Linked DNA regions of Homo sapiens: region 1 is linked to region 2. Evidence: promoter capture Hi-C in human tissues and cell types (Jung and others, 2019). All regions are on one chromosome and are shown on one strand. The core of a region is centred on a gene start or on the middle of the fragment in contact, and the rest is flanking DNA. Distances in the headings are between cores, read along the strand shown. Region 1 overlaps LOC102724495 (a long non-coding RNA gene). Region 2 holds the start of ASZ1 (ankyrin repeat, SAM and basic leucine zipper domain containing 1).

Region 1 (5,013 bases), core at 982-3,481, 880 kb after region 2:
CTTATGTAGAAATGAGCTCTAGGTCAATAAGCCAAAAGTCAGTTCATCAAGTGGCCAATTGGCCAAATGACCTTGTTTCTTTTAACTATATTAATTTTAGTTAACTGGTTTTCATTTTGTCTTCATGATAGCTTTTAAAATAATGATCCATTTGCTTCTCCCCCAGTTTACTAAATAATGTTCTTTTTGTTTCTACTGCAGCTGAAGACCAAGGGCCAGAGGGAGGGAAAGACTGACAGGCATAAAGACATGTTTTTGATTATAAAAAATTCTTAACAATATATTATTCATGAATATATTCTATATATGGATATATTCTTCATGAATGTATTCATTTAAATTTATATATATATATAAACAGAATTTATCTTTAGGAGACTAGATTGTTATGAATATATTTTTCTTAAGAATAGGAATATATAACTCATAAATATTTTAGAATATTAGGAATTTCAAGTTTAATTTTGATTTTATTCTTGAATCGAATCTGTCTCTCCTTTCTCTCTTCATACCTCAAATCCTCCTCTTTTTTCTCCCCCATTGCTAGCTCTTGAGCATGGTGTCATGAAGACAAAATAAGAACCAGTCAATATAGTCAGAAAAAATAAATAAATTAGGTAAATTAGTGAGTTATCTGACCTCTGTGGGGATGCAAACTTGGTGTGGTTGAGGGAAAGTTAATTTGTAATATTTTCTAAAGGAAATATAAGGATGATACTTTGCTTATAAGAAGAGCAGGATAAATTATATCACATAGCTATTAGCACAAATGCTTGGAATGAACATTTTACAACTGTTTTGGATCATTCCTATAATGGCTGCACCTTTGTAAAGATTTATGATTTTAATGCAAGATTGATTTAGAGTCTACATGACTATTATGCAAGATTTGTAGTCCTGCATTGGATTTGTCACTTCACCCTTCATCAAATGGAGGGTAAAAAAGGCCTTACATGCGCTGAGTTAAAAGAGAAGAAAAGGTAAATAAATTATATGAAGATATTTATATTTGATGTATGTCATAAGTTTGCAGATAATGCTATTAAATAAGCAAATCCTGCTGAATTTAAGGAATAGGGGAATTGTCTTTTAGTTATCTTATTTGAGAGATTTAAATAAGCCCACAGTAAAAAGCATACACAGAAAGCAATGTGTTTCCCAATACTTTAATAGAAAGCCTGGTCAGAGCTTCCTGCCTATCTGTTGATTCACTGTACAACACTGTGCTGTGAACGGGTCAGTTACATCCTTTTCCAGTTACCCTGTTTTGCTGTATGAATGCAATTCTTTTCTATGTGTGCTGCATTGTAAGCAAGGTGGAAAGTACTGGCTAGACAATGCTAATATTAAAAACAATTTTTATTTTAGCCTTTAAGAATTGTGTGATTGCCACTTTACACTGATACCCTCTGGCAAAAAGACTAACAACAGCAAAAAAAGTCAATGAACCTTTTTTTTTTCTTTGCCTTCTTAAAGAATTGACTAAAAAATTGCTCCTGACCAACAGTTTTAAAATTCAGTCAACTTCACAGGGAAAGCAAGTGACTGAACACTGTTAGGGAATGACTCCTCCACTCCAATGCCATCAAATTAGATGTAATGAGTAGGTGACCTGAATACCATGTATGAAATCTGTTATTCTGAGAAACTCATTTGATTACTGAATCAGGGATTTAAAGGGTGACTTCCATAATAATTAAACCAGAAATAAAATAGTCCTAGAAAGATAAGTAAGTGACAGTCTCTTGCTTTGATTTCTAGATCTCCATTATCTGAAAATTCATCTGAAAGGCAGTAGGCAAGAGTTGAAACAACAGGGTGCCATTTCTTTAGAAAAAAAAGATATCTCAAAACTGAAAATATTAATAGAACCTTACTTACTAACGTGGATAATTGATAGAACATTGATCTGAATGAATGAAAACACTGAATTGCAAAATTTATTCAAAGAAAGTTAGTTCATTCTAAATTTATAGTTATACAAATAAGCTTAATAAAATATGTTGTTATTAAATGTCCTTTATATCAAGTGGAAATAATTCATGATTGGTTAGCTTCCTAGGACTTCTGTAACGAAGTACCACAAACTGTGTGGCTTAAAACAACAGAAATGTATTCTCTCATGGTTCTAGAGACTAGAAGTCTGAAATCAAGAGCTGGCAGGTTGGTTCCTTCTGAAGACCTTGAGAGAGAATCTGTTTCATGACTCTCAGCTGCTGGTATTTGCCAGCAATCTTCGGTGTTCTGTCGTCTAGATGTATCACTCTAATCTCTGCTTCTGTTTTCACATGACATTCTCTCCATGTATCTCCCTGTGTTCAAATTTCTCTCTTCTGTATAAGGACATGACTCATTGGCTTAGGGCCCACCCTAGTCCAGTATGACCTCATCTTAACTAATTACATCTGTGAAGACCCTATTTACAAATAAGGTCACATTCTGAGGTTCTGAATGGATCTGAATTTTGGGGAACACTATTCAACCCAGTATAATTAATACAGTAAACCACCAGCCCAGACAATTAGCTACACCTGGCACAGACACTAATGAGTTGTTTGCAATACATCTGCAAGGCTTTAAATTGTTTTTTAAGAAACAAAATTTGGCCTGTAATTCCAGCACTTTGGGAGACCAAGGTGGGTGGGTCACTTGAGCCCAGGAGTTTGAGACTAACCTGGGCAACATGGTGAAACCTTGTCTCTACAAAAAATACAACAGTTAGCTGGACATGGTGGTGTGTGCCTATAGTTCCAGGTACTCAGGAGGCAAAGATGAGAGGATTGATTAAGCCTGAGAGGTTGAGGCTGCAGTGAGCTATGATTTTGCCACTGCACTCCAGCATCGGTGACAGAGGGAGACCCAGTCTCAAAACAAACAAACAAAAGAAATAAAATTTGCTATATCTATATTTTTATTACCAATTTCTTGGTGACTCTTTAATATTGATATGATAAACTTAGCTCATTTCTTCTTTTAATTACCACATATTCTAAATGTATTAAATTAGAACAAATGATTTTATCATAATTATACTTGGAATTCATTAGTATAACCATCATCTACGGAATAACACCCATTTTTTGGAGGACAATTAATGTGATGAAGGGAATGCAGCGAAAGTATATTATCTAAAGTGATATTTTTTTCAATTAAATGGCTCATGAATCTAATTTGTTCATACCAATATGTAATGGCTGCTGGAGAAATAAACTGTAAACTATGTTTGAATGGTATCAGGCTGGATTACCCTGCTACCTCCCTGTCCTCTAGTTTTCTTGGGCTGACTTTATTTTAAAATCCAAAAAGAGTATAGTGACATCCATACTACCTACCTGGAGGAGCCCACTGGTGCTCTCGTTAATATGTTTGCTAATTCCTGGGTAATGGGGAGAAGAGGTTACCTTCTGTATTAGTCCATTCCCACACTGCTAATGAAGACATACCCAAGACTGGATAATTTATAAAGGAAAGAGGTTTAATTGACTTACAGTTCAGCATGGCTGGGAGGCCTCAGGAAACTTACAATCACGATGGAAGGTGAAGGGGAAGCAAGGCACCTTCTTCATAAGGTGGCAGAAAGGAGAAGTGCCAAGTGAAGGGGGAAGAGCCCCTTATAAAACCATCAGATTTTGTGAGAACTCACTCACTATCATGAGAAAAGCACGGGGGACACCACCCATATGATTCAATTACCTCCACTTCGTCTCTCCCTTGACACATGGGAATTATGGGGATTCCAATTCAAGATGAGATTTGGGTAGGGACACAAAGCCTAACCATATCATTCTGCTCTGGCCCCTTCAAAATCTCATGTCCCTTTCATATTTTAAAATCAGCCATGCCTCCCAACAGTCCCCCAAAGTCTTAACTCATTCCAGCATTAACCCAAAAGTCCAAGTCCAAAGTCTTATGTGAGACAAGGCAAGTCCCTTCTGCCTATGATCCTGTAAAATCGAAAGTAAGTTAGTTACTTCCTAGATACAATGGTGGTACAGGCGTTTGGTAAATACATGCATTCCAAATGGGTGAAATTGGCCAAAACAAAGGGGCTACAGGACCCATGCAAGTCTGAAATCCAGCAGGACAGTCAAATCTTAAAGCTCTGAAATGATCTCCTTTGACTCCATGTCTCACATCCAGGTCATGCTGATGCAAAATGTGGGCTCCCATGGCCTTGGGCAGTTCCACCTCTATGGCTTTTCAGGATACAACCCCTTTCCTGGCTGCTTTCATGAGCTGGCGTTGAGTATCTGCATCTTTTCCAGGCACACAGTGCAAGCTGTTGGTGGATCTACCATTCTGGGGTCTAGAGGATGGTGGCCATCTTCTCACAGCTCCACTAGGCAGTGCACCAGTGTGGATTCTGTGTGGGGGCTTTGATCTCACATTTCCTTCTGTACTGCCCTAGCAGAGGTTCTCCATGAGGGCTCCACCCCTGCAGAAAACTTCTGCCTCAATATTCAGGCATTTCCTTACATCCTCCGAAATCTAGGTGAAGTTCCCAAATCTTATTTCTTGACTTCTGTGTACCTGCAGGCTCAACACCATGTGGAAATGTCAAGGGTTAGGGTTTGCACCTTCTGAAACCTGACCTGTATCTTGGCCCCTTTTAGCCACAGCTGGGATGCATGACGCCAAGTCTCAAAACTGCACAAAGCAGCAAGGCCCTGGCCACAGCCCATGAAACTATTTTTTCCTCCTGAACCTCTGGTCCTGTGATGGGAGGACCTGCTATGAAGTTTTCTGACATGCCTTGGAGCCATTTTCCCCATTGTCTTGGAAATTAACATTTGACTCCTCATTACTTATGCAAATTTCTGCAGCTAGCTTGAATTTCTCCTCAGAAAATTGGTTTTTCTTTTCTATTGCATTGTCTGGCTGCAAATTTTCTAAACTTTTATGTTCTGCTTCCCCCTTAAACATAAGTTCCAATTCAAAATCATATTTTTGTTAATACATAAAACTGAATGCTTTTAAGAGCACCTAAGTCACATCTTGAATGCTTTGTTGCTT
Region 2 (4,474 bases), core at 1,505-4,004:
TATACATATATTAATATTAGGTATTCGGGCCTCTTTCTACTTATTCAGAGTTTATTCAATTTCGTTTTTCAATTCCAAACTCAAGTTCCATTGTCCAAAAAGTCATACAGATCCTTCTCATTTCTTATAAGAATAACAGGTAATGTTTACATAATTCCTATGTGTTCTAAGTCCTTTAAAAGCGTATTTTAATTCTCCCCCTTGCCAACAACCCTTTGATATAATAATCCTCATTTTAAAACGGGCAGAAATTGAAGCTTAGGAAGATTTGGTAACTTAGTCAAGGTTACAAAGCCATCAAGTGGCATGGTTAGTAATCAAACCCAGATCTGTCTTGTTTTCAAAATTATTTACTTTTCAGTAAACTATGCATTGATTCTAGCATAGAAGAAAAACATTATGCTATATATAATCACATCTAACTACCTTGTGTGTGAATGTTTTGTATCTACAATGGCAAAAACCACAATTATTTTTGCATCAAACTGAAGTAAATGCTTGTTATTCCTTTGAGTAATTTCTTTTTTTTTTTTTTTTTTTTTTTTGAGACGGAGTCTCGCTTTGTCGCCCAGGCTGGAGTGCAGTGGCGCGATCTCGGCTCACTGCAAGCTCCGCCTCCCGGGTTCACGCCATTCTCCTGCCTCAGCCTCCCGCGTAGCTGGGACTACAGGCGCCCGCCACCACGCCCAGCTAATTTTTTTTGTGTTTTTTAGTAGAGACGGGGTTTCACTGTGTTAGCCAGGATGGTCTCGATCTCCTGACCTCGTGATCCGCCCGCCTTGGACTCCCAAAGTGCTGGGATTACAGGCGTGAGCCACCGCGCCCGGCCAGTAATTTCAATCATTATAATCAATAATTTACATTTCTATGTGAAGGTAATTTAAAGTTTTTTTTTTATTTAATACACAAAAAATTCATGAAGCCCAGGACAGAATTATGATGCTTTACATAAAGAAACTGATGCTCTCTGGCTGGGGGCGGTGGCTCTTGCTTGTAATCTCAGCACTTTGGGAGGCCGAGGTGGGTGATTACTTGAGGTCAGTAGTTCAAGACCAGCCTGGCCGACATGGTGAAACCCCCGTGTCTACTAAAATTACCAAAATTAGCTGGGCTTGGTGACCGGTGCTTTTAGTCCCGGCTACTCCGGAGGCTGAGGTGGGAGAATCACTTGAATCCCGGCCCCCAGATGGAGGTTGCAGTGAGCGAAGATGGTGCCACTGCACTCCAGCAGGGCTAGAGAGAGACACTCCATCCCCTTCCTTCAACCCCCCAAAAATGAAATCTGATGCTCTCAAAGTTTTAATGCCTCTTCCAAGAAACCAGAGTGGGCAATAAACTGGAAGAAATTATCCATATATTTATTCTGATTCCTAGCTCAGGCCTCATTCCACCAGTACAAAACAAAAAACTGTAACGAGAAAGAACTAAAATGTAGAACCATTTCTTAAGAAACATACAACAGGCAGGGCACGGTGGCTCATGCCTGTAATCCCAGCACTTTGGGAGGCCGAGACAGGCGGATCACAAGGTCAGAGGATCGAGACTATCCTGGCTAACACGGTGAAACCCTCTCTCTATTAAAAATACAAAAAAAAAAAAAAATTAGCCGGGCGTGGTGTCACGCGCTTGTAGTCCCAGCTACTCAGGAGGGTGAGGCAGGAGAATCGCTTGAACCCGAAGGTGGAGATTGCAGTGAGCCAAGATCGCGCCACTGCACTCCAGCCTGGGCCACAGAGCAAGATAACATCTCAAAAAAAAAAAAAAAAAAAAAAGAAAAAGAAAAGAAAAAAGAAACAACATTACAGCAGAGTAAATGAAGAGAGAATTAAGAATGATCAGAGTGGGATAGGATTAGAGTAGGCCTCTTGCTTGAAGGAGGGGGAAGAACTGATGGAAGATAAACAGGGTGGCATTCCAAATGCAAGCAGAGAGGAAGAAAATAAGGCAGACTGGACTCAGTCAACGAAGATTATGCAGGATGATACATTAACATTTGTTGCGTTTCCATTAGAAAAGCAACATAAACCTTTTAAAAATAAAGAATCCTTGCGAACTTAAGACAGCTGTGTTCAGATGAAACTGTCCCTTATCTCTCACCAGAATCTAGGAGCTCCTGGACCAATGAAACATCTCCGATGGTCATTGCTTTCTTAAATTTTTCTTTCTTTTCTTCAATGGGTAATAGCCTTTTCAATTTCTAGAAAAGTAAACATTTTAAAAAATTCTTGTTATATATATTTTTGTTTCCACCTCATCAGGAAACAATAATGTTTGGTTAAGTACACAGGTTTTTTTTCTTGGCTTTATTTTGACTAAGATACAAAGTTTGAAAAGAATTCGTGTCGAAAATTATCTTTCAAGGGAATAGGTAATGATGGATCCAAACCCAACTGAGGAGTTACGATGACCTAAAGAAGCGTATTTGGTGGTAACCACAGTTGGGGAGGGAACACGAGGAAATTTGTGCGGGTTTGCTTAAGTACAAACTCCCGTATTTCCACTGGGTAAAAGGGAAATACACGTGAGGGAGTAGGAGGTTTCACGAGGCTGGGCCTCGCCTTCGAGGGCCAGGGGAGGCTGAAACCAGGTGTGGTCAAGACAAGGCCTCCTCCGCTACCTGAGACGTCCGGTCGAGATACCCAATCTCCCAGCCATCATCCTCGCTCTCGCTACTCTCGCCTCCGCCAGCCACTGGCAGGCCTCGCAGCGCGCTCGCCGCCATGCCAGCCAAGGAAGCTCCCTGTCGGCACCGCGCGCCCTTCAGCTCTCCGGGCGCATGCGCACCGGGGTGGGGCGTACGTAGAGATGCGCGGGAAGGAGCGCCGTGGAAGCGCTCCAGTCTGGAGCCCTCCAGCGCAGGCGCACAGCGGCGCGCTGCTCTCCTCCCTGCCCCGTCCCTCCCTAACCTTGAGGCTTCTTGAGGTGAAAACCTGGCGTGTCTGACACTGGTGACGAAGTTCGTGCGCCAGGCTTCTGCTGGCACTTCCAGTTCCTCTCAGGGACTTACCTTTCGACCTCTTTAAAGTATTTGCTTGATGAAATGATGAAATTCTTGCTCTGCAAGGAATGCCTTACTTGTGGCAGGAGCACACTAGGATTTAACGGCAAGTAAGACTAGACTTTCCCCGCCATCCTTTTCATCTGCCCCCTGCCAAACGTCTGTTAAATCTGTATCCCCTGGGAGACGGACTCTTCGTAGTAACACCTCTCTCAGGAGCACCACTCAGACATTCAAGAAGCCCTTACGCAAGTAGGAGCCGACGAAGGAGCCAGGAGAAAATACTGCCCCAAAGAATTCTTCCTTTACATTTCATGTGATCTTAGATCTCACCTTAGATTTAGAAGCTTCAGACCATCAAAACACTTCCCCGCTATGAAGTGTAGATGTCCTAGAGGAAAATATGAAAGGAGGGGGTTTCCGGGTACAGTGGATCCAAAGAGCCAGAAAGAAAGAAATGACTTAAACGTCCAGAGAGCAAATAATACAAACAACTCCAGGTGGAAGTGGCCCAAGCTCGAACTCACCTTTCTACATGGTTCTAGATGGTAGAACTTCTAGATGTTGGTAACACAGTGATTTTCTTTGCCACCACAGAAAAGTAGATCCACCAAGAAACAGGGCATATTATATGTATCTCAAGATAATAGCCATGCACTATTATTTGAAAGCTTTTGCGGTTTTTTTCTTGCAGATTCTCTGATAAAAGATTTTGAAATTATTTACTTTAGAGGCTCAGAGGTAAGTATTTTTAAGTAGTTTAGCTATTTGCGTGCCACATCTGTCTTTCTAAATGCATTCATTCAATAAATGCTAGGGATTACTTAGCACAGCCAAGTGCTACTAGGTTTGGGGAGACAACGTCAAAGATAAACCATGGAGCCTTATGGAGCTCACTTTAATAAGTAGAGATAGACAATATGCAAGGAAACAAAAACACTATTGCAGATTGTAAGTGCTTCAAAAGAAACAAGTGTGCTCTGTTTCTGGAATCAAACCACTTTTGTGTTTCCTGGGGGAATCACTAGCTGTAGCTGTGTGCCCTTAGGCAATTTACTTAGCATCTATCTGGGTACCAGCTAACTTATCTGTAGAATGGAGGTGATGATAGTACCCACCAAATAGAATTGTTATGAGGACTAAATGAAGTAATAGGCTTAGAATAAGGTCTTTCTCAATGTAAGAGGTAGATTTTAGATAGGATAGTCAGAACTGTGCAGAGTCGTAAATAACAAGCCATATAAGAGTGGGAGAATAGAGCTTTCCTGGCAGTGGACAGGAATAGTGCCAAGGTCCTAAGGCAAGAAAAAAGCAACTCAGGACCAGGATGGGGCAAGTGAGGCTGGGGCAAGTGAGTCCCCTAAGAAGCAAAGTTTAAGGAAGTACTGTCAGGGTCCTGCAAATTCAGTGAGTGCCTTTTTAAATTTTGCTCCTGGGTCACCTCACTTACCTTAGTTCTTGTCCTGCTTGGACCAG

Evidence for each region. The method cuts DNA at HindIII sites, captures the fragments that hold promoters and counts their contacts. A contact is called where the count stands out against the background at its distance.
Region 1: a contact is called between a fragment that was not itself captured here and the fragment with the promoter of ASZ1 in region 2, in 1 of the 25 tissues and cell types used here (lymphoblastoid cells).

The regions. Positions count from the first base shown.
Region 1 is chr7:118,304,669-118,309,681 of GRCh38, forward strand. The region is part of intron 1 of LOC102724495 (a long non-coding RNA gene); the gene reads left to right. Among named protein-coding and RNA genes, the nearest start is that of ANKRD7, 82 kb to the left of the region's middle. The HindIII fragment of the contact is 4,734 bases long and covers 1-4,598 here.
Region 2 is chr7:117,424,739-117,429,212 of GRCh38, forward strand. It overlaps ASZ1 (ankyrin repeat, SAM and basic leucine zipper domain containing 1), which reads right to left and starts at 2,755. Exons shown (of 13, transcript NM_130768.3): 1 at 2,618-2,755; 2 at 2,098-2,197. The coding sequence starts at 2,722. The HindIII fragment of the contact is 3,572 bases long and covers 1,802-4,474 here.